Regions from separate parts of the Homo sapiens genome. Here regions 1, 3 and 4 are each linked to region 2. Evidence: promoter capture Hi-C in 16 types of primary human blood cells and fetal thymus (Javierre and others, 2016). All regions are on one chromosome and are shown on one strand. Each heading gives the region's core, a stretch centred on a gene start or on the middle of the fragment in contact. The rest is flanking DNA. Distances are from core to core; before and after follow the strand shown.

Region 1 (5,989 bases), core at 335-2,834, 2.4 Mb after region 2:
GGGATATATTTAGAGCCCAGGCCATTCTATGCAGCATCCCTAGTCTGGAAAGAACTCAGACTCTGAATGCAAAGGAACTATTGTAGGTCTCTCATGAGGTTAATGTCCATTCAGGCACAAATTCAGGCAGAATTTGCTGAAACATGCCAGAAAAATAAGACCAAGGGATTCAATATCTATCTTATGTTTTCAATGACACTGAAATATTCTGTGGCTATTGCAATATCTTAAGTCATAGTTTTTAGAGGTATATTTTACAGTTCATGCCTTCAAGAACAAAGTGTTACAGCTTGAGTTTGATTCTAGGCTCTACTAATACTAGCTGCTTTACATTGCAGAGTGTAGTTAATCTTTCTGAGAACTTTTTCTCATCTATAAAAATGGGCAAAATTAACATCCTCCTAGAAAGACATCTGAGAGAATAATATGAATTAGGTCCAGAATGGGAACTCTCCAAATAGTGCCATGCGGTAAAAGATTAACTCAGCAGGCCTTGGTTGTTCAAACCTTCACATGAAAAAAAAATCTGATATTTGACTGGCTCTTGGGAGATAACCTTAAAGTGCTCAGAATTACTTGCCTAATAAGAATGTTCAGCTGGGCACAGTGGCTCACATCTGTAATCCCAGCACTTTGGTAGGCCAAGGTGGGTGGATCACCTGAGGTCAGGAGTTCAAGACCAGCCTGGCCAAGATGGGTAAACCCTGTCTCTACTAAAAATACAAAAATTAGCCAGGTGTGGTGGCGGGTGCCTGTAATCCCACTTACTCAGGAGGTTGAGGCAGGAGAATTGCTTGAACTCAGGAGGTGGAGGCTGCAGTGAGCCCAGATCACGCCATTGCACTCCAGCCTGGATGACAGAGCAAGACTCTGTCTCAAAAAGAAAAAAAGAATGTTTATATTTACCTAGGATCTTGGTCCACACCAGATAGTTTATGATAGCAATGTGATTTGTGGTGGGGACCTTGGGCCACAGGGTATCAATATGAACTCTGGAGAGGCCGGAGACTGAGTAACCAAGGTCAGCAATGGCACCCTCCATACTCATGTAACCAATCCCCTAATAAAAACCCTGGACACCAAAGCTTGGATGAGCTTCCCTGGTTTGCAATACTTCATTCATGTTATCACAACACTGTTTCTGGGATAATTAAGTGCTGTTTATATGACTCCTCTAGGAGAGGAGAACTGGAAGCATGGTCTTTCCTGTACTATAGCCTATGAGCCTTTTTGCTCATTCAATCTGTATTCTTTTGCTGTAACAAACTAATTGGGAGCTTAGCAGTGTTTTTGTATTCTGTGTGTTCTTCTAGTGAGTCATTGAACCTGAGGATGGTCTTAGGACACCTGACACAAATATCCTTTTTCCTCATATATTATACTTTCAAGCTGATGTCTCTGAAATGTTTAAAGACTGCCAAATGTCATGAACCAGTCATTTAATATCATTGATGAGGAGGACTTGTTTAGTAGCTTTAATTCTAATCTGCTCCCTCCCTACTACAGCTTCCCCGTCCCTAACAGCCACATTTCTTTTTTTTTTTCTAGATAGAGTCTCACTTTTGTCACCCAGGCTGGAGTGCAGTGATGCAATCTCAGCTCACTACAACCTCCGCCTCCCAGGTTCAAGTGATTCTCCTGCCTCAGCCTCCTGAGTAGCTGGGATTAGAGGTGCCCACCACCACACCCAGCTAATTTGTATATTTTTAGTGGAGATGGGGTTTCACCATGTTGGCCAGGCTAGTCTCGAACTCCTGACCTCAGGTGATCTGTCCACCTTAGCCTCCCAAAGTGCTGGCATTACAGGTGTGAGCCACCGCACCTGGCCCACATTTCTTATCACACTCAGGTTCCTAGAGAGGAACAAGTGCACCAGTTTTCTAATCTGACTTCTTCCTTTCCCACTTACGCCCTCTGAAAAAACCAAAAAGAATTAAATAGGCTTGCTTCTCTGGTTTGGTGGTAGATTCTTCTACTTTTTATTCCTACCCAACTCCTACGAACCAATTTCTATCCTGAATAGGTCAGTTTCTATCCATCGCAAAGCTCATCTGTAAATATCACCTTGAATTTTATAGCCTGCAGAAGCTTCCAGTTTGTGTTTTTTAGCCCCAGATCATGATGTCCTTGGTCCTACAGAAGACAGAGCAAATCTGAGGTTTGTCATACACAAAATGGAGCATTATAAAACCCTTTGGTACTGGTCTGTGTTCATGATAATTTTTTTTCTTGATTATCCCTGTGTTCTCTTCCAAAAGTTGCCGTTACAGACACCAGAACACTCCTGTAATTTTGTTAATCTGCAATGGTTTCATATATGAGCAAGTTGTTTCCTCAATGAAATTATAAACTCCCTGAAGGTAAGAACTAAGCATCTCTTGAAGAGTAAACCACACAAGGTGAATTGAATCCACAGTTGTGTTTCCTGCAGTGCTGTGAACACAGAATTGGTTTCATTACCATCTCTGTAATTGTCTATGTGCAAAGGGGGTTTTTAATGTGGCTTCTCGGGGTTGGTTTGAAGGAACAACAGAATAGAGGTGCTTGACCAACAGTTTAAGTTGCCTTCGTCTGGAGTACTGTGGAAGGCCCATCAATAATCTGCAGCACGCAGCATTCCCCAGGCCTCCTTCACTGTTTCTGTCCTTGAAGGTACCTGCTGTTCCCATTTCCAAGCCTGCAGGACCAACTCTACACAGCAAGTTCTCACAATTCAATTACAATCAAATCAAGCAGGCTCAGGAAAATCTCAAGAGTCACTTAGAGCAGCAGGAACCCAGGAACACATGGCTGGTTAACCACCTATTCAGGCACTGTCTCCTGCCTGGGCCAATCCCCTTTTCCATGTCACACACTACACATAGCAAGGGGACAACTATCCTGGGAGTCTAGGGGAGAGTAAAAGTGTTCACGATCCCAATGATAATTCTCCAGGTATGGAATTTGTATATTTTAAATCTGGCCTATGAGAGATGTGGGGTGGGGGAATTAGGGGCCCTCATTAGCTTTCCTCATCTTTCAAATCCTATCACACCCCTTTCCTTAAAAAAAAGGGGTTCCTTCTTTCAAAACCCACTTTTTTCTATTAACCAATCTTTATGCATTTAAATAAATCTTTCCGAACGCTAGTGAAAGGCATCGAGTATTTTTCTAAAAACAGCTTTATTCAGATATAATCCAAATACTATGCAATTTACCCATTAAAAGTTTACATTTCAATGGTTTTAGTATAATCACAGACTTGTGTATTTACTGCCCTGATCATCTTTTTCCTTTAATTAATTTTTTTTATAGAGATGGGGTCTCGCTATGTTGCCTAGGCTGATCTTGATCTCCTTGGCTCGAGCAATCCTCCTGCCTCAGCCTTCAAAAGTGCTGGGATTACAGGCCTGAGCCATGCACCTGGCCTCCCAGTCATTTTTTAGAACTCTTTCACTACCTCCAAAAGAAACTGCACCATTTAGATACCACTCCCCAAGCCCCTCCCCATAGGCAACCACTAATCTTTCTATCTCTGTATATTTGCCTATTCTGGATATTTCATATCAATAGAATCATATTATATGTGGTTTTCTGTGACTGACTTCTTTCACTTAGCATGTTTTTAAGGTTCATTCACATTGTAGCATGTATTGGTACCATTTCTTACTATGGCCAAACAATATTCCATTGTATGAACATAGCATGTTTTGTTTATTCATACATCAGCTGATAGACATTTAGGTTGTTTCCACATAATGACTGTTATGGATTTTGCAGCTATGAACATTCATATACAAGTTCTTGGTGCACACATTTTCATTTCTCTTAAGTATACAACTAGGGGTGGAATTGCTGGGTCATATGGTATGTTTTACTGACTGAAGAAACTGCCAGACTGTTTTCCAAAATGGTTGCACCATTTTACATTCCTGCCAGCAAGTTATGAAAGTTGTAATTTCTTCACATCCTTTCCAATACTTGTAATCTGTCTTCTGGATTACGGTCAAGCTAGTAGGTGGGAAGTGGTATCTTACTGTCGTTTTGATTTGCATTTCCCTGATGGCTAATGATGTTCGGCATCTTTTCATGTGTTTATTGGCCATTATATATCTTCTTTGGAGAACTATCTAACCAAATACTTTGCCTATTTTTTTCATTGTGTTATTTGTTCTTATTATTCAGTTGTAATAGTTTTACAAAATTCTGTATACATGTCCTTTATCAGATATATGATTGCAAATATTTTCTCCCATTCTCTGGGTTGTCTTCACTTTCTTGATGGTGTTCTTTGAAGTGCAAATTTTAAATTTCGATGATTCCATTTATATATGCCTGCTGAGGTGGGAGGATTGCTTGAGTCTGGGAGGTTGAGGCTGCAATGAGGTGTGACTTCACCCTGCACTCCAGCCCCAGGCAAGAGCAAGACCCTGTATCAAAAAAGAAAAAGAAAGAAAGAAAAGAGAGAAAGAAAGAAAGAAAGAAAGAAAGAAAGAAAGAAAGAAAGAAAGAAAGAAGGAAGGAAAGGAAGGAAGGAAGGAAGGAGGAGAAAGAAAGAAACAAAGAAAGAAAGAAAGAAGGGAGGGAGGGAGAGAAGGAAGGAACGAAGGAAAGAAGGAAGGAAGGAAGGAAGGAAGAAAGGAAGGGAGGGAGGGAGGGAGAGAAAAATCAAATCAATTGACCATAATATGAGGGTTCATTTCTGGACTTTCAATTCTATTCTATTGATTTATATGTCTATCCTTATGCCAGTACTGAGTATCTGTATGTCTTGATTACTGTGGCTTTATAGAATTTTGAAACTGGGAAATGTGAGTCCTCCAACTTTGTTCTTTTTCAATATTATTTTGGCTATTTTGGGTCCCTTAAATTTTCATGTAAATTTGAGGATCGGCTTGTCTAATTTTGCAAAAAAAGTCAGCTTGGAGACAGGAGTTGCGTTGAATGCGTAGAACAATTTCAGGAGTATTGCCACCTTAATAATATTAAGTCTGACTTAGTAACATGGGACGTCACCCTTTCCTCTTAAAGTGAGCCCTCACTGCCAGTCCAGTAGGGCTGGGCTGGTTGGGCCTGGGAGTGGGGGCACCTGGACAAGTCTCTAGGGTCTTGGGCCCAGGTCACTAACTCCCTTCCTCCCCAAGCCTCCTTCTCCACACCCACCCCCAACGCTCCACGACCCCCAAGAGGGAGTACCAGACCCTTCACCTTGCCACACCCTGCAAAGCCAAAATCCTGACATAGTCAGGATCCCACAATCGCAGGGACTGCAGAGGCTTTAGGGATACTGCATTCTGGTTGTCACGGGCTATCCTCGTATTAGGGCGGGTGGCTAGGGGTGCGTTTGCGCCCGGCCGGAAGTGAGGAGAGTCACCATGGGAACCGTGGACGCTGAAACTAGCCACTTCCTCTTGGCACTGAGAAGCTGAATCTGCGCGATCCTCACATCAACCTCGGTCTCTCTGGCTGGATATTTATCGGGTTCTGCCTGAAAGGCCGTCTAACGCCTTTCCTCTTGGAAAAGTCGCAGGTCTTAATAATACAGCTTCAGTTTATACGTTTCTTTGTGCCTTATAATAGTCATAAAGGTCTGGTTAGCTCTCCACTCCGTCGAGGAGCGCTCCAGGAGCTCACAGTTGGGCCTTTCGTAGCACTTAGGGAAAGATCCTTGCTATTTTGCTATTTATTGTACTGGCTTAAAATGGGGGTGGGCAGGCAGGAGCGCCCTTTTCGGAGCGGGCGGGAAAGGGCGGCGACCACGGTTGGCCCCCCGCAGACCCCGCAACTCCTGCTGTGCCCCTCAGCTGCCATTAGAGTCCCCATGGGGTCCCTCCTGCCTGTGTCTCCACAAGAGGGACCCCATGGGAACTCTACTGAGAGCCCTGCATCCTACCAAGGAGCCCCCAGAAGTCGGGCCCTGCGTGGGGTCGGTTGGCCTGGTGGAGTGTGTCCAACCTCTGACCCGCTTTTGGGAGGATCAGAACCCCGCGTCCGGGCGGCCGGCGCGCAC
Region 2 (5,513 bases), core at 2,847-5,346:
CTAATCTAGTGCAGGTTTAGAAGCCAGATAACTTTGCTTGTTAGAAACACTTTAAATAAATGCCAACACATTCTTATTAAGGGTCTCCAAGGCTCTCCTAAGCTTTAAGCTATGGACTGGGACAATTTGGCTATCCCAGGCCTTTGTTGTTCATTGTCTGCTTCTCAAATACATTTTACAATAGGTCCATAATAACAGTGTAGGCAAATCATTTGGATTAGAAAGAGCCCAAGTAACAAACCCACAACTACAAGAGAGGAAGAAATCATTTGGGAGGACCCTTATATCTCAGGCAATGTTCTAGGTACTTGAATTGTGATCACTGAATAAGAGGAAGGGGTTAGTACTTCCATTTTGTGTCAGAAAACCAAGGGCCTGGGGTTGGTAGTAAATTGCCCAGTATTGTAACTGAGAAACAAAATATTAGGCTAGGGCTCTCTGATTCCAAAACCCAAGGCCTTTCCACTACATGAGACTGCTGTCCAATCCTGGGTCTCGGTTTAACTAACTTTTTACACTATTCCCGATCCTTTCACTGAGTTATTCAACTCTGCTTTCTTTCCTTAACCAGCTTCTGTAATTAAAGGGCAATAAGTGATCAAATTAAGGTCAGATGAAGCTTAGCTCTACAAGTGTACATCTGTTCAGCAATAAACATGTTTCTGAAAGACTGGCCGTATCTTCAGTTTGTATAGACTGTGCAAAACTGGTGCCAAGGTCCCCCCAAAATACACAGATTGTTCCCAGTGACACTGAGTAACACTTCACATCTTCCCTAGTGCTATCTGCTACATGTTACAGGAAGCAAGGCAAGCTCACTTTAGGAATGGCTCAGTAATGCATGTGCCCTTGATTTGTACACTAACAACTGTCTTACTCTAAACACTGGAGAATAGGGCAAGGGACATGAGTTTCCACTTTTCTAACTCCATTAAGGAACAGGGGTGTACTTGTTTGCTGTTAAGAGACTTTATTGCCTAGTCCAGAGCCTGACACACAGAAAAAGCTGTTTGTTGAATAAATGAATAAATGTATTTGTTGAAAATAAATGCATCGGCCAGGCGCGGTGACTCACGCCTGTAATCCCAGCACTTTGGGAGGCCGAGGTGGGCGGATCACCTGAGGTCGGGAGTTCGAGACCAGCCTGACCAACATGGTGAAACCCCGTCTCTACTAAAAATACAAAATCAGCCAGGCATGGTGGCGCATGCCTGTAATCCCAGCTACTCAGGAGGCTGAGGCAGGAGAAGCGCTTGAACCCAGGAGGCGGAGGTTGCGGTGAGCCGAGATCGTGCCATTGCACTCCAGCCTGGGCAACAAGAGTGAACTCCGTCTCAAAATAAAATAAAATAAAATATATAAATGCATAATCTCTCATAACCTCTCTTAACTGGTTGTGAATTCCTTACGTTTCACATTTTCTGACATACCTTTGGAATACTTAGGGGAAAACATCTTACCTCTCACAGAAACTAAGGGCCTAAAAATGGCTCTTCTACACCCATCAAAAGACTAAGAATCTAAAAGACATGCCCCCCTCTACCCTCTAAAAATGACTCTTTGTCCTAAGAATATGAATAAATCTCCATCTGCCAGACTGCACTAAATACAGCTTTTATATGCATTACAAAAACACCTGTATAAAAAAGCTGCTACAAAACGAGGTTTTTGGAGCCCTAAAGCACAAAACCAACAGAATCAAAACCAAACAAGAACAAGGAAAGACTTTTAAAACTGACAGTATTTGCAAAATGTAAAAATTCAATAGGTCTTTGGCCAGCGGTTTACACAGCTAAACCGAGTTTTTCCATTGACATATATTCCCCCAAATGTGAAGTAAAGATTATAGCAACATGATTCTAATATTTACAATGTGAAAATGAAAAGGGGACAACAACCTCTGGCCATCTTGAAGTAGAATAGAAACAACCTTTGTTCCTACTAAAGTTCTGTTGAAATACCAAAACCATCCCCAATATTCCTACACAAGAGTTAAAACACATACCAAGCCTGATAAGACACAAACAACAGGAAATTACCCTGCACAGTTTCTTAAAAGACTATTATTTCATGAAACTTACAGACTGTGTAGAGACATGACCACTTATGACTAAGTAAACGTAGGTTACAACCTTGAAAACCCAAACTTTTGTTGAACACCTACAATGCTTGTGGCCGCACTTTAGAAGGTGTGGCTAAGTATAAAAACCAAGCTCTAAGAGCAATTTCTTACTAAAACCCCAAAATGAACGTTTCCAATCACATTACATTAATTAAACCTGGCCAGTGAACAGCCTTGAACTCAATTAAATCCAGCAGAGTTTAATATTTATAGTAAAAGTGGGCACACTCTTTAGAAATGCCGAAAGATGTGAACTATTTATATTTACTACGACAGCTAAGTTTACGGCAACGGCTAAGGAACTTTAAAAATAAAAGTATTACTTTTGAATTTAATATAAACGTTTGCTAAATGACCTTCTGGCAGAGGAAATTCTTTAAATATCTTGTATGGGTTTTCCGAAGGCAAATTTTTTAAATACCCTCAAACTATGGTACATTTATGAAGCCCATTTTAAATTACTTCTCCCATCTCTGCTTCATCTGCTTCACTAATTCATGTATTAAAACTGTTGAAACTCCATTTAACTATTTGACTAACTTCTCTGTAAGATGGAAACTTTTTAAAGGGTGTTAAAGTAGAATAGCAAATTTTCAGCATAATAAGAGCAAATTTATTACTAGGCTCAAGGAAAACATCCTATCAGCGATTCATTCATACGAAACTATCAGGTTCAATTCATATGAAGTCAGAAGAGAGAAAAAGAATTTTGGAAATTAAATCACATTTCAAAGACCATTTCTAAAAAGATGTAATTATTCCAAGTTATTTATTTATTAACAATTATTTTACACATGTCGTTTTAAAAGTTTCACAAACCCAAATTTAAGATAGTCCAAATTGCAACAAACAAGACATGACTTTGATGGAAAATGCTGCTTGCAAATTCGTTTTACCTGGAAATTTCTTTTTTAAAGGTATGGTTGACAACACACTGGTGGTATTTTGCTTTTAAAGGGTCAAGAGAAAGGAATAACAAAACCAACCCAGGCATTCTTTTTCTGTTTAGGATCAAAAGGACATTTTAAGGATAAGTAAAAGACAAAAGTACCTGACCCAAAGACAATATCCCCCTCCAAGAGAACAAAGTAAGTTGCAATTTTAAAAACCAAGTTTGAAATACGAGAAATCACTTCGAGGGCTTTCCAAAGGCGTGTGATAAAAACTAATAGGCTCCACCCGCAGAACAACTTTCACAAGTGAGTGAAGGATGATCACAGAGTTATCAGCTGTGTGCGTGTTTGTGAGTACACACAAGCCATGGAAAACCCGAGACTACCACTGTTAACAAAGGTTACGAGACCAAAAAAAAAAAGTGGAGGCAAAGTATTACGCGTCCCTAACAAGGCTTCCCCACAACTCCTGAAACAAGAGCTCTGGCCCTTCGGCTTTAAAAATCAGAACCACAAACTATGGAGTGTGAGAGCAGCGAGGGGAAGGGACGCAGGCAGCCCCCGCCCCCGTCAGCCTGGGCGGCAGCGCAGTGCAACCGAGCCCCGTCCCTTCCCGGCTCTCCGGCCCCGAACCCGCACGCCCGGGCCGGCGCACCCACAGCCCCCGAACTCACCACACCCCAGCCCCCACCCGCAGCGGCCATGTGACACGGCCCATCGCCCCGGCCGCGGACGCACGCAAACACTTCCCTAGCTGGAGGCCCGCGGGCGCCCAGGCTTTACCTGCAAGGTGGCGCCAGGTCCCGCCCCGTCAGATCCGGGGGGTCCGGGACCTTTTGTTCCTTCCTCTTCCGATGGGATGGAGGGGGCTGGGAGGGGAAGAGGGGAATGGGCGATTGGAGGCGGAACTGAAAACACTCCCGGCCGCCGTCTTCCCGCCCCGCCCCCAGGCCCGGGCCCGGCCGGCGGCCCGGGCGCGCGGGAGGGTAGGGGAAGAGAGGGGAGGGGAGGGGAGGAGAGGGAAGGGGAGGGGAGGGAGCCTGGCCGCCGCCCGCGGGGAAGGAGGGGGTGAGGACGCGCGCGCCCGCGCTGCCCCTCCTCCCCTCAGGCGCGCGCCCGCAGCCCTACCGGCCGCCCGCACGGCCGCGCCCTCCCCCGCCAGCCCACCTCCGCTTCCGCCCTCCGCCCTCGGCCGCCGGCCGCCGCGGCGCCACGCACCCACCTCCCGGCGGCTGGCGGGCTGCTGGCTGGCGAGCTGCTTCTCCGCCGCCGCGGCCGCGCGGGTAGACCCGCCTGCCACCCTGGGCCGCGGGCCCCGCCGATTCGCCGGCGCAGCCCCGGGGCTGGCACCCTGCCGCCCGCTGATTGGCGCCTCCAGCCGCCCGTTAGGGCGCGAGGCACGCCGGCCGAAAGCCGCGCGGGGCGGGTATGGAAGACGGAGGGAGCGGAGGAGGAAAGGAACGAGGCCGAGCACCGCGGGAAGGGCCGGGGGGCGAGCGGGGCGCGGGGAGTCGCCGGCCACCGCCTCCCCACCTCCCTTTGCCTACGGCCCGCCCCGCCTCCCGGCCGGACCGGCGGCGCCCGCAGCCAATCAGCACGAGGGAAGCTCGGGGTGTGAGCCGCGCATCGGGGGCCTCGAATCGGAAGGGAGACGTCGCTCGCTGATTGGTCCCGCCTCCCCAGTCTAGCGTGAGGCGAGGCGGGGCGCGGCCGGGCGGGGCGGGACGCCCGCGGTTTCGCTTGAGTTGGGCGCCGGCGCGCTCCCACCGGGGCTCACGGGCGGAGAGGGAGAGGCCCGCGCCTTGCCGCGCATTAAGACGATTCCCGGTGACCGCCCGATCCCTCGCCAGCGTCGTGGGTGGGGCCTGTAGGGGCCTGCCGCCTCGTCCACCGTCCGTCGTGAGGCCGGCAGCGGACACGTGCTCATCCCACGGGGAGGCCCCGCGCAGCGCGGAGGACGCGCCTGAGAGAGAAAAGGGGTTCGGGAGAAGCCCGAGGACCCGGCCCGTGACTGGGCGCGCCCTATGCAAATGAGCGGGCGGGGCCCTCGTGTTGCTGAACGAGGGCGGGTTCGCGATGTAAATAAGCCCAGAGGTGGGGTCTTTGGAGAGCACTTAGGGCCCGGGTAGGGGATGCCAGGTATAAGTGTTTAACCTAAATTTTGGTTCCGTCTTCAGTAAAAATGATATCAATAATCCATGTCCCGAAGGGTCTTTGTGAAGTCTAAAAGAAACATCTGTCACGATGTCCCTTAATGGCTGGGATATCTTCCCTTCCCCTTTTCTCCACTGTTGCGACGATTAGGCCCCAACTTGCACATCTGCCCTACAGGAGGCAGCAAGGCCCTAAACTTACGGCTGCCCAGAACATAACTGCACCCAGGGAAAACCTTGTTGCGGTTACCCTTAGGAACACCCAAGCCTCTGCTGACAAAATATTGAGCCCAACTAATCACATCAGGTGTTTACTATGCACCCACTGTGACACAGGCAGGGAGT
Region 3 (6,153 bases), core at 3,017-5,516, 2.3 Mb after region 2:
GCTGAGAAGCTGAGCCTGCGCAGTCCTCACCCCGCCCCTCGGCCAAATCCCGCCGACCTTGCTCCCTTCCTCCAGGGTTCATCAGAATGGCAGAAAAAACCTCTAGCCCAAGAAAAATCAAAGCTCTAATTACAATTCCAGTTGACTTTGCTATTTATATCTTGTAATGGTCTAAAAGTATGAAAAAGGTTAGCGAACATTTTTTGGGAAGCTTAAATTTTGCACTATCTGTAGGTTAATCTTGATGACGGTAATAATCACAGGAAAACCTTATATTTGTGTAGTTCTTTACAATTTCCAAGATATTTTCACACACACAGCCTTTTAACCTCACAGATTTTTTCTGAGACAAGGTCTCGCTCTGTCGCCCAGGGTGGAGTGCAGTGGCGTGATCATGGCTCCCTGCAGCCTCGTCCTCCTGGGCCTCAGCCTCCAGAGTATCTGGGACTACAAAGCCTGCGCCACCACGCCCTGCTAATTTAAAAACAAATTTTGAAGAGACAGGGGGTCCCGCTATGTTGCTCAGGCTGGAACTCCTGCTCCTGGGTTCAAGCGATCCTCCCCACTGCCCCTCCCGCCGGCCTCCCAAAGTGTTGGAATTACAGGGTGCGCTACCGCGCGTGGCCGCAAATATCTTACAGGGTTGATAGAATAGCAAGTAATACTATCCTTATTTTCCAGCTAAGGCAAAGCTCAGGGAGCCTAAGTGCCTTGTCAAACCAAATAACCAGTAATAATAATAATTTTTTAAAACCTGTTAATAAAATCTTCCTATTTGCCATTGGCAGAAACCAGGGCTTAGACTCAGGATATCCTAGGATGGGGGCAGATCAAATGGACTAGTGGGGCAGTGGCACGACCTGGTGGAGCATAATTAAGAGTCTGAGGGTCACAGTGGACCAGGGTCAGGATGTGGATCAGAAGTCCAGTAACTGGTTTCTGAGAATCAGGATCCAGGCAGAACAGGAAACACAAATCAGGGAACCAGGACGGACCTGCAGCACAGGTGGTAACCACAGTTGCATTTCCAGTCAAGAGCAAGGTGGTAATACCTAAAAGCCAATTAAGAATGACACTGTGATACTCCCATTCTAAAGTGGGGGTGAGCATAGAACACTTGTGAGCACATGCAACAAATCAGTACCTACGTCAAACTGACATATAATAAGTACAACTAATGTGTATGCCCTCTTAAGGACGCAATTTACTGTAAATTAGCATTCCTTAATCATTTGTAAACCACCCACTTCGGATTTTGTATGTGGTATGTTTCTAAATACGAATTCCATTTCCTGAATTGCTGGTTCAGCTTTTCAGCCACGAAATAATGTTTTTCTTCTCTTTTAATAATTCTGTCATTTTGTGTTCTTTTCTATAACGGTTCTTTCAATTGCAGTTCAGTAAAATACGCATTTGCATTTACTAAGAGTTTACGTGGCCTGAAACAGAAAACAAACAAATTAGGTGGTCGTCTCGGTTTCCTGGAGTGTCCAGAGGGGCGGTTCTTTGATCTTCGAGTCCAACGGGCTCCGGGCCCGCCCGTCGGTCCGGGCGGAACCACCCCCACCACACATCCTCCGGGAAGGCGGCAATGAAAACGCCTTGGGCCCGAAGTACGGCTTGGGAAAATCGGCGCAGATTCGGGGCCGCCCGTTGGGGATTCCCAAGGTTGTGCAGCCCAAAGGGCCTCGTCGGAATTTCTGAGGCGATGGGGTAAACCGACCCTTGGCGACACCCGGCCGCACTCGAACGTCCTAGGTCGTCGAGCCCCGCCCTCACCCTGGGCGAGCTCCGAAATTTAACCCCGGTTCGGTTTTGCCTGTTTTACCACTATTTGAAGAGGGGGACTCAGCTTCCCTCTGGCCCTAGCCCAAGTACTGGGGTTTGCGCCGGACGGAGACCACGCCCCAGGGCGGCCAGGCCAGGGGTGATGGGTGACGAGCGGTGCCTCCAGGGCCCCGGTGGGTGACTGTGGCTGGGAACTACGGGCTTTCTCGCCCCGGCGCCCCCTGGCGGACCCACCAGCAGGTTGAAGGTGTCCGGCCAGTGCTGAGCACCAAGAGCCTCAGCCTTCAGCCAACCCCCCGCCCCCGCGGCCTAGGTAAGTGAATCGCTCAGGGTCCTTGGAAAGAAGTGACCTTGATTTGATCTTCCCACCCACTATCCCAGTTTCTCAGAGGCAGTCAACACTGTTCCCACCAAACCACTCCCAAAAGAAACACTAAGCATGTAAGTAAGTGGGACAATAAAAATTTAAAAATAATTTTAAAATAGAACAGCTTAGAGATAGAAACTAAATTATTTCCAATTCCTACTGTGCCCCAAACAAGGTTCACAAAAGGGCTGTCCTCCCAACAATTTTCTGAATTCTATATATTCAGCATTAAATTCCATGATAAAGTTGGAAATCCATTCACCATTTGTAATACATATTGATGCATTTAATAAAATTGCATGGGCCGTATCTTTTGCATTTCTGTATCCTAGTATTAAGTACAGTGCCTACCACAGGCCAGGTTCTCAATACTTGAATAAATGACACAAAAATAGCCAGGACCAGCAAGTTTTTTCTGGGTGGGCTTCATAGAATCTCTGTACTTGCTGGAATCACCATGAAATCCATGGTCTTCAGCTTTGCATTTTCAGCCACATAGTTATATTGAGTTATCCTCAGGTGAGCAGTGAGACCCTTGGGAGCGGATTCATGGTAGGGTGGCTTTGTAATGTGTCACCTTGGTGAGGCTATGTTTCCCGGAACTCTCTTCCAGTAAGATGGGCCACAAGAGACATTTTGCTTGATAACCGGAGGGCGGAAGTGAAGCAGCAGCACATTGTTTTTACACTTGGAAGGTTGGTGCTGGGGCACCAGGCGTTGTTGCAGTTCACACGTTGCCATGTATCTGCTAGATCACCTCGTTGGTGTGGGCAGTAGTCAGGCCTGCAGCCAGGCCTGCAGCTGCTCCACCTTCCCCAGGATCATCCTTTCAGCTTCTCTAATTCCTGGGCCAGATGCATATTTAACTCTGTGAGGAAGGGCACCAGCTTCTTCTGCAGGACACCCACATCATCGAAGCTGGAGGTGGTGAGAGACTGACATGGGTTCCAGGCCATCCTCGTGGGTTCCAGCTCGTGCTCGTGGGCTCCACTGTGTCCTCGGTCTCCCACACTTTACATCCATCTTCCCTTCCCGAGTGCCTGCCCTGCAGACTTCAAGCTCCAGCATTAGATGCAAAGACAACAGCCTTACAGAGACTGTTTAACCAGCTCCCACAATGGCATGCGGTCAGATCCCTATAATAAATCCCTTAAAATACATATATACATAATCTTTATCTTAGTGGTTCTGCTCCTCTGATTGTACCCTAACATAAATGGTCAGCAGAAGCTTAACTCATGAGTCTAAATGTCAATCAAATAAATTTCATATAGATCATTGTCAAAATTACCAGAATACTGGGGTTGGGTGGTTGGTTCCTGGGGGAAACAAAGCAGTATCAGTCTATCCAGTCTTGACTAGGGCTGAACTAGTTAGGATGGAATAAAGGAAGGGGTGGGGAAGGTGGCAGAGGCTGGACTGTATGAGACAGAACTGGGAAATGGCTAATCCATGTCTGAATTACTTAAAGCTGCAGGGCTGGGACTAGGGTAAGGCAAGGGAGGCACACAGGATACAAAGTTTAAGGAGGCACTCACTCAGTCCTGGCCCTGTAAAGCTGGCTAACAAATTACAGGTCTAATCTTTTTGGCACTTTATGAATGAAGAATTGGGAGAGAGTGAGGTAGGGCTGAGCCAAGACTGGCTCTTGGGCAGGACTCGAAGCAGGAATTCAGCCTCCTAGAACACATTCAGGCTGAGGGCAGGAGCCAAGCACAAAGGTGATCACAGGGCAGGAGATGCACGTTGTCAGGAAAGATGAGCCAGGCTGGCAGCTTTAGTTACAAAGACTGCTCTGGCTGAAGAGGGGGAGTCAGGGTAACAAGCAAAATGGACAGCAGCCAGTGGGGAGATATATCCTGTAGGGTTTGAGGAATCCTATGCAGCACCTGGGGTCTGCAGGAAACCCAGTTTCTGTATGAACAGATGCTCTGACAAGGTGACCCCATCTACATTGAGCCTTGGCACTCCCTAAACCATGCTAGAGACAGGAATGTAAGGGATTTATTATAGTAATTATAGTAATCTGTGTTTTCAAGGTCACCGAAAACTCCTGTTAGTGCATACAGGATTACAGGTTACAGTTTAGTGGAGTAAAGAACAAGGGCTTTAAAAGCTGGGTTTGAGTCTAGGCTCTACTAACACCAGCTGTTCGACATTGGACAAATTAATGAGTCTCAGTTTTCCCATCCACATAAATGGACAAAATCAATGTCTTCCCAAAAATATTATTTTAAGGATTAAATAAACTGGGTCCACAGAGGAACACACCAAATAGCAGTTCCTTTCCTTATTTATTCAATTACATTTTCAATTGCTATCTCCCTGAGGAAGTATGTAGAGACACTGCCAGGTCTCATCCAGAAGCCACTTACAATTACTCATGAACATGGCTTGTTTAGGTTGTTTTGTGGTGGCTTTAATTATATTACCTTTCTCCAACCCAGCTCCCCCACCCTTAAAATCCAACTTCTTATACTCAGGCTCTTGGGGAGGAGAAGATGCACCAACTTTCTACTCTTTCTCTTCCTTTCCCGCTTACTTCTTCTAGAAGCTCAAAGTACTCTTAGGCCTGCTCTTCTGGTTTGGTAGTAGGTTTTTCCTCCTAGGGTTGATTCACACACAAGCCCTGGCAACCAATCTAGGGTCCAGCCCCTAGTAGATCAGTGTTGTCTCTCATAAAGCCAGTCTGCAAATATCACCTTGAATCCTACAGTCTGTAGAAGCCTCCAGTCTACTGCTTTCTAGCTCCAGGTTTTTTAAGGTCTTTGGACCTAGGGAAAAGGGAGCAGGTCTGTATGTTGAATGAGGTTTGCTATGTGCGCAATGGAGCATTACAAAACCATTTCCTACTATTCTGTGTCCTCCATCCACTTCCCCTTAATTATCCTTTATCTTTTTTTATATCTTCTAAAAACTACCATTATAGACAGCTTGTACATAGTCAGATTATAAGCTCCCTGAAGGTAGGTATCCTGTGTCTCCTGAAGGGTAAGCTTTGCAGGGCTCATTGTCCTCAATGCTGTGCACCCAACAGGAACTCAATCAATACTTCTGTAATTGGCCAAGTATAGATGAAAGGGTTTCTAGCCTGGTGGGCTGGTTTGTAGGAGCAAAGGAATCCAAGTGCTTAGGCCAATAGTTTACATCGCCAGTGTCTGGGGCTCTATGCAGGGTCTGTCAATATTCTGCAGGAGCCAGCACTCCTCTGTCCTCCCAACCACCCTAGTCCTTACAGGCATCTACCCTTTGTTCTATGCCAGGACTACAGGGACAGTTCTGCAAGGCATCTGAAGTTAATAACCTCAATAGGCTCAGGAAAGGCTCAAGAGATCCAGCCCAAGCCCTTCCACAGAGGCCGCTCCAGGAAGTGCAGGGCAACCAGAGATCACACAACTACGTGTGAACCCAGCTCACAAAGCCAGCTCGGAACCCAGATCTCCTGCCCATACCACTGCCCAGGCAAGCCCAGCACCATTTCTCTGGTACACATTGCTCAATGTCAGGCAACAGCCCACCCAGAGGTCTCCTGGAGACTCTAAAGGCCTTCAAGACCCAAATGATTATTCTCTGAATAAGAATTTATATATTAAAGCTGACCCCTATAGAAATTCCTTAGGAAAATAGGGACCAGACTCCCTATCTTTTTCTTTCAAATCTCATGATAGAGTACCAAGTCTTTCCCCTACCCCCAAAGGAGAGTCCTAACCTGGAATGCTATTGGGCTGGATCTCAGGAGAAATCTCTAGGGTCCTACACACACGCCCCTCATTAATTGTGACCAGCATAGTGGGTATGGGCCTTTACCTCCCACCACACCATGCCAAACTGCCGGCTATACTTTCAAAACTCAGGGCCCACATCTGGCCAACACCCACTCCTTCCCCACCCCTCACTGTGTGGGGCACACCTTGGCAACCAGACTGCTGTATCTCGGAAGCGGGTTCCACCCAGGCTGAAAATCTCCGTGATCTAGAGAAGAATTAACACCATAGGTC
Region 4 (5,365 bases), core at 373-2,872, 2.4 Mb after region 2:
TAATTTTCCTTTACCTACCCAAATCTTATAAAACGACCCCACCCCTATCTCCCTTAGCTGACTGTCTTTTCGGACTCAGCCCGCCTGCACTCAGGTGAAATAAACAGCCTTGTTGCTCACACAAAGGCCAGTTTGGTGGTCTCTTCATACGGACATGAGTGAAAGTAACTGTCCAGATTACATTTTTTACAAAAGATTTTTTTCAGTCTCCTTCGCAGATGGGAGTGACCAGTGAGAAGCAGATGGAAGCCACTGGGTGTGGCTTCCAGCACAACGCTCTCAAAGTGCTGGTTCTGTTGGCAGTTAAGCCTATTACACATGCCTCTTGCTCGTTTCTGCTGCCTGGGAGAAAGACCTGAGGACAGGGGCTGGCAGCCTGAAGGTCCAAGTGCATAATAATAGCGCAGTGGAGCCAAGGGATGGACAGAACCTGGCGGTGCCACCACTCCAGCCTTGGGTGCTTTTCCCTCCTTTTCAACAGGGAGAATTAAACTTTTGTTTTTCTTATTTTAAATTTATATTTGCTCTTAAGTGGCAGGCCAGGTCTCACTAACAGCTGAACAGACAGGCCTCCGTAACCACTGTTTCAGCACTAGTTAAGTTAAATATTAAAAGCTGAAAGAGCCAGTGTCTTTATAGAAAGGCTGGTATGTAACAAAAGCCCACCAAGAGTTTTGCCCAGGCCTTTCCTGGTCCTTGAAGCATGAGAAAATAAAGAAGGAATTCTTAACAGGACCTGTTCAAGATTAAACAAGTTTTTATTGGGGGTCTGAAGAAACTCCCCCAGACCTCCACAAACAAGTTTATCGGGGGTCTGAAGGAACTGCCCAAACCTTCATGATTTAGCAGGAGACAAGATAAGGGTAATCACCTCTGGCACCTGCAGCCATCTAGATTAAGTAAATTTACTTAAATAAAGACCTTCCTTAGGACTGATCTTAGTTATAGATTAGAAACAGTTAATCATTTACGTCTTTACACACATGCACACTTACATGTAGACAGATAGTTTAGAAGGTATATAAGCTCTGGAAAACTTTGTAATTTTGAATCGATTTGGCGATATTTTCCAGGCCTTTTCCCTGTACCCGGTTACCGAAATAAACTCTTCTTTCCCAGTTCATCATGAGAATAAGCAGCCCAACCCCTGGTTTGGCCCGGGAACACTTACAGAGGCTGTCTAAGACCCAGAAGACAGGGTCACTGTTTCTTCCACACAAACTTAGCTGCTCTTTGGAATTTTCTGGGGTGTTTTTATAAATACTAAGGCTTGTGCCTCATTTCCCCAGTGTCTGATTTCACCGACTTGGGGTGTACTCTAGGCACTGAGACTTGTAATAGCTGCCCCTGGTGACTCTAAGGTGCAGCAAATGTCAAAGACCAGGACTTGGTGACGCCAGGTCCCTGGCTGGGCTGCGGTCAAGACTGCATGACCTGCTGAAATCTCCCCAGACTGGTTAGCGCGGAAAGAGCACCTCCGGGTTACCCTTTCGTCCGGAAGCCCCGCCTTCGCCGTCGCCCCGCCTTTCCCCGGCTCGGCCACCCCTCCTTCCCGCCCAGCTGTGGCCCCGGATGACGCAAACCGGGAACAGCGGCTGAGCCTGCGCTTCGGAAGCATGGATGTGCGCCTGCGCTGCGCTAGGGCGCGGCGGGCGGTTTGAATTTTGCTTACAGAGTCCCGTCTCACCATCCTGGGCTTCCAACGGAGACTGCGGTATCCGCAGCTGGAGACCCAGCGGCGAGTAGCCTTTTGCTCCCGGACGGACTTGAGGTTGGAGTCTGTGTGTTGGGGACCCTGCCTTTGGAAGCGCCCGAGGTAGCTGCTTGGCAGCTGGGGGCCGCGGACCGCGCCGGGCTTGGGGGAGGACGGGGCTGGAGGCTGGGTTGGATGCTTTAGACCCTCCCCTTCTCTCTCACCGGCGGAGTGGGTGGGAAACTGGTTCTTTCCCATTTCTCGGCCTCCTTACCGATCCCAAACTGTAAAGCCCCAACCCCTCACAGCACAGGAAAAATGATTACCTGGGCCCATTTCTTTGACAGTGTAACACATTTTTAAAAAATGTGTCCTTATTTTGCGTGTTTAAAGAAAATACCAATGTTGTCTTTATATACAAATAGTGCGTTTGTCCTCCTGAATCCTTAAGGAAAGGACCCAGGCTTATCCTCTTTCCCCTGGTTTGGGATCCATCGATGGCCTAAGGCTCTAAGACAAGTCAGTACGGTACCGTGGTTAGAAACTGAATGTTGTAGAAATGAAAGAAATTGCTCTTGAATTTTTGTGCTTAACCTTCAAAGACATGTGATTTACTTGACATTGACCATTCTTGGATTTCGAAAGTGAACAGAAATTTGTGTGGCTTTTCTTGTTACGAATATGTTTATGTTTTTTTCTTCAGAGGCTTAAAGGATGGCCTCGTCAGATCTGGAACAATTATGCTCTCATGTTAATGAAAAGATTGGCAATATTAAGAAAACCTTATCATTAAGAAACTGTGGTAAGTAAAACAGATTCCACTGACTTTGTATATACAAAATGCATTTTGATTATTCCACTCTGAATGATATCTTTGCTTGGTTAAGTGACTGCATCTTAGGTAATTTTAGATTTTTGCATAACGATTTTTTAAATAGTCCAATGTCATTTTGAATATTGTGGAGGATACTAAAAATGTAAGGTACATTGAACAATGAACTGAATATTCATTAGAATTATTTACTTATGTTTTTCTGAGACACATAGGCCAATGGTGAGATTTGAAGGTTATGTGGCATCCATGGTTCTACAGCTAAATAGAGATACAGTCATGCGTTCCTTAATGATGGAGATGTGTTCTGACAAAAGCGTTACATGATTTTGTCGTTGTGCAAACATCACATCATAGAATGTACGTAAATGTACACAAACCTAGATGGTATAGCCTACTACATATCTAGGCTATATAGCCTATTGCTCCTAGGCAACAAACCCGTATAGCATGTGACTGTACTGAATACCTTAGGCAAGTGTAACACAATGGTGAGTATTTGTGTATCTAAACATAGAAAAGATACAGTAAAAGATTAAAAATGGAACACCTGTATAGGCCACTTACCATTGATGGAGCTTGCAGAACTGGAAGTTGCTGTGGGTGAGACAGTGACTGTGAGGGCCTAGGACATCACTGTATACTACTGTAGGCTTTATAAGTACTATACACTTATGCTACACTAAATTTATAAAAAATGAAAAACTTTCTTCAATAATACATTAACCTTAGCTTACTATAACTTTTTTACTTAATAAACTTCTTAGTTTGGCTTAGCTTTTTTATTCTTTTCTAATAGCTTAAAACAAATACATTGTACAGGTGTACAAAAATATTTTTATATCTTTATGAGCTTTTTTTCTATTTTTTTTTAACTTTTTAAAATTTTTTTGTCAAAAACGAATACACACACACACACACATTAGCCTAGGCCTATGCAGGGTCAGGATCATCAACATCTGTCTTCCACATTCACATCTTGTTCCACTAGAAGGTCATCGGGGCAGTACCACACATGGAGCAGTCATCTGTGATAACAATGCCTTCTGGAATATCTCCTGAGGGATCTGCCTGAGGCTGTTTTACAGTTAACTTTTTTTTTTTAATAGGTAGAAGGAGTACACTCTAAAATAACAATACAAAGTATTGTATAGTAAATAACATAAACTAGTAACCATTTATTATCAATTATTATGTACTATACATAATTGTATGTGCTGTACTTTTGTAATACTGGCATTAGAGTTTGTTTACACCAGCATCACCACAAACATGTGAATAATGCATTGTACCATGATGTTATGATGGCTCCGATGTCACAAGGCAATAGGAATGTTTCAGCTCCGTTATAATCTTATGGGGCCACTGTCATATTTATGGTCCATTGTTGACTGAATCACTGTTATGTGGCACATTATTAAAAGGCAAGTTAAAAAAACTGATGTAGAGCTCCATAGGGGTAAAAGTAGTTCATAACCCATCTTAGAGCCTGCTTTGGAGGAAGCTTATTACTCTATATCACTGGGAAATAACTAATTGAAAATGAAATAAATTATTTAAGCATCCATGAACTTGGAGATTTTAAGTATATTTGAAAATATTTTGACGTGCTGAAATTGGATGATGCAATGAAAGTTCAGAGAAACAGATGATCCTTGTCAAATCTAAAATGTCTAAAGAATTACATACTCCCTAACCTTATCTGGGAGGGTAACGGTTTATTGGCAGACAGAATTCCATGTGCTGGGAAGGTTGTGTTGAACTTGTATTGTAGTTTGTATTATGAATTGGTAGTTTGAAAACTTTCTCAAATATGAAATTATAATGTTAGATAGGCCATTTCGAATTATACCTCCCCTCTCAGGGACGTTGATATTCTCAGTCCTGTATTGATAACTACTAATAAAGGAGCCTCATACATTTTACAGTTTATGGTTCACATACTCTGGAAAGTTAAAGCTAAAGGGACTGGGTTCATCTTAAGGAGCCCCCTGACCTCACACCTGAGGAAACTGAGACTCTCGGAAGTCAGGTGGCTGGCCCAGGTCCCTCAGCTCATGAGTACTTGGTTGGGCGACAGTTTCTGTTTCTTGATTCCCATGTTAGTACTCTTTCTATTTTGTTGCCATTTTTATTGAAGTAATTTGTAAAAGACTTTTAGATGTTTAATAATGAGTCTTGTTTAAATTCACTTTCTGAGGTTATGATTAGTCATGGATAAACAAATATAATTTGGAGATCTATACAACTATCAAGCCTTGAATTCACATGACCCACCAAAGCATAGGCCTGGCTGAAGCAGTCAGACCCATGAGATCCTTACACAGTTGTCAACTGTCATTTTGTATGGGGGGATAATAATTTGTGTGGCTCCATAGCCTATAAAATAAAGTCTGGTAGTTTGTTTGCTACTTTGGCTTCTGTAACTGACTAGATTACTACATAAAAAACAGTGACCAGACACACACCTGTAATCCCAGCACTTTGGGAGGCCAAGGCAGGCGGATCGCTTGAGCTTAGGAGTTTGAGACCAGCCTAGTAACATAGTAAGACCCTGTCTCTACACAAAATAAAAAATGAGCCAGGTGTGGTGGCGTTTACCTGTAGTCCCAGCTATTCAGGAGGCTGAGGCAGGAGGATTGCTTGAGCCTGGTAGGTTGAGGCTGCAGTGAGCTCCGATGGTGCCACTGAACTCCAGCCTGGGTGACAGAGAAAGACCCTGTCTCAAAAAAAAAAAAAAAAAAAAAAGTGGTAAACAACACCCTAAAATTTAGGTGACTAAAAGTTGAGATACCAGTGTATGGGGAAGAAATACTGTGTTCAACTAATTCTACTGAAAT

What was found. The method cuts DNA at HindIII sites, captures the fragments that hold promoters and counts their contacts. A CHiCAGO score of 5 or more calls a contact.
Region 1: a contact is called between a fragment that was not itself captured here and the fragment with the promoter of SMAD2 in region 2, in 1 of 17 cell types (neutrophils). The highest score is 7.8, in neutrophils.
Region 3: a contact is called between a fragment that was not itself captured here and the fragment with the promoter of SMAD2 in region 2, in 2 of 17 cell types (neutrophils and naive CD8 T cells). The highest score is 10.7, in neutrophils.
Region 4: the fragment with the promoter of SKA1 here is called in contact with the fragment with the promoter of SMAD2 in region 2 in 1 of 17 cell types (neutrophils); the score reaches 7.8 in neutrophils.

Annotation. Positions count from the first base shown.
Region 1 is chr18:50,292,735-50,298,723 of GRCh38, forward strand. No RefSeq gene overlaps it. Among named protein-coding and RNA genes, the nearest start is that of CXXC1, 8.0 kb to the left of the region's middle. The HindIII fragment of the contact is 1,003 bases long and covers 1,084-2,086 here.
Region 2 is chr18:47,926,563-47,932,075 of GRCh38, forward strand. SMAD2 (SMAD family member 2) reads right to left here and starts at 4,097. Exons shown (of 11, transcript NM_005901.6): 1 at 3,799-4,097. RefSeq lists silencers at 3,526-4,055, 4,086-5,015. The HindIII fragment of the contact is 8,478 bases long and covers 618-5,513 here.
Region 3 is chr18:50,266,612-50,272,764 of GRCh38, forward strand. It overlaps MBD1 (methyl-CpG binding domain protein 1), which reads right to left. Exons shown (of 17, transcript NM_015846.4): 15 at 6,066-6,127; 16 at 4,858-4,929; 17 at 2,235-3,207. The coding sequence ends at 4,890. Among named protein-coding and RNA genes, the nearest start is that of CFAP53, 3.2 kb to the left of the region's middle. RefSeq lists enhancers at 1-133, 1,476-1,665 and a silencer at 1,826-2,095. The HindIII fragment of the contact is 1,766 bases long and covers 3,384-5,149 here.
Region 4 is chr18:50,373,424-50,378,788 of GRCh38, forward strand. SKA1 (spindle and kinetochore associated complex subunit 1) reads left to right here and starts at 1,623. Exons shown (of 7, transcript NM_145060.4): 1 at 1,623-1,771; 2 at 2,397-2,495. The coding sequence starts at 2,408. LOC105372114 (a long non-coding RNA gene) reads right to left here and starts at 1,455. Exons shown (of 3, transcript XR_935466.3): 1 at 1,172-1,455. RefSeq lists a silencer at 116-410. The HindIII fragment of the contact is 8,258 bases long and covers 1-4,027 here.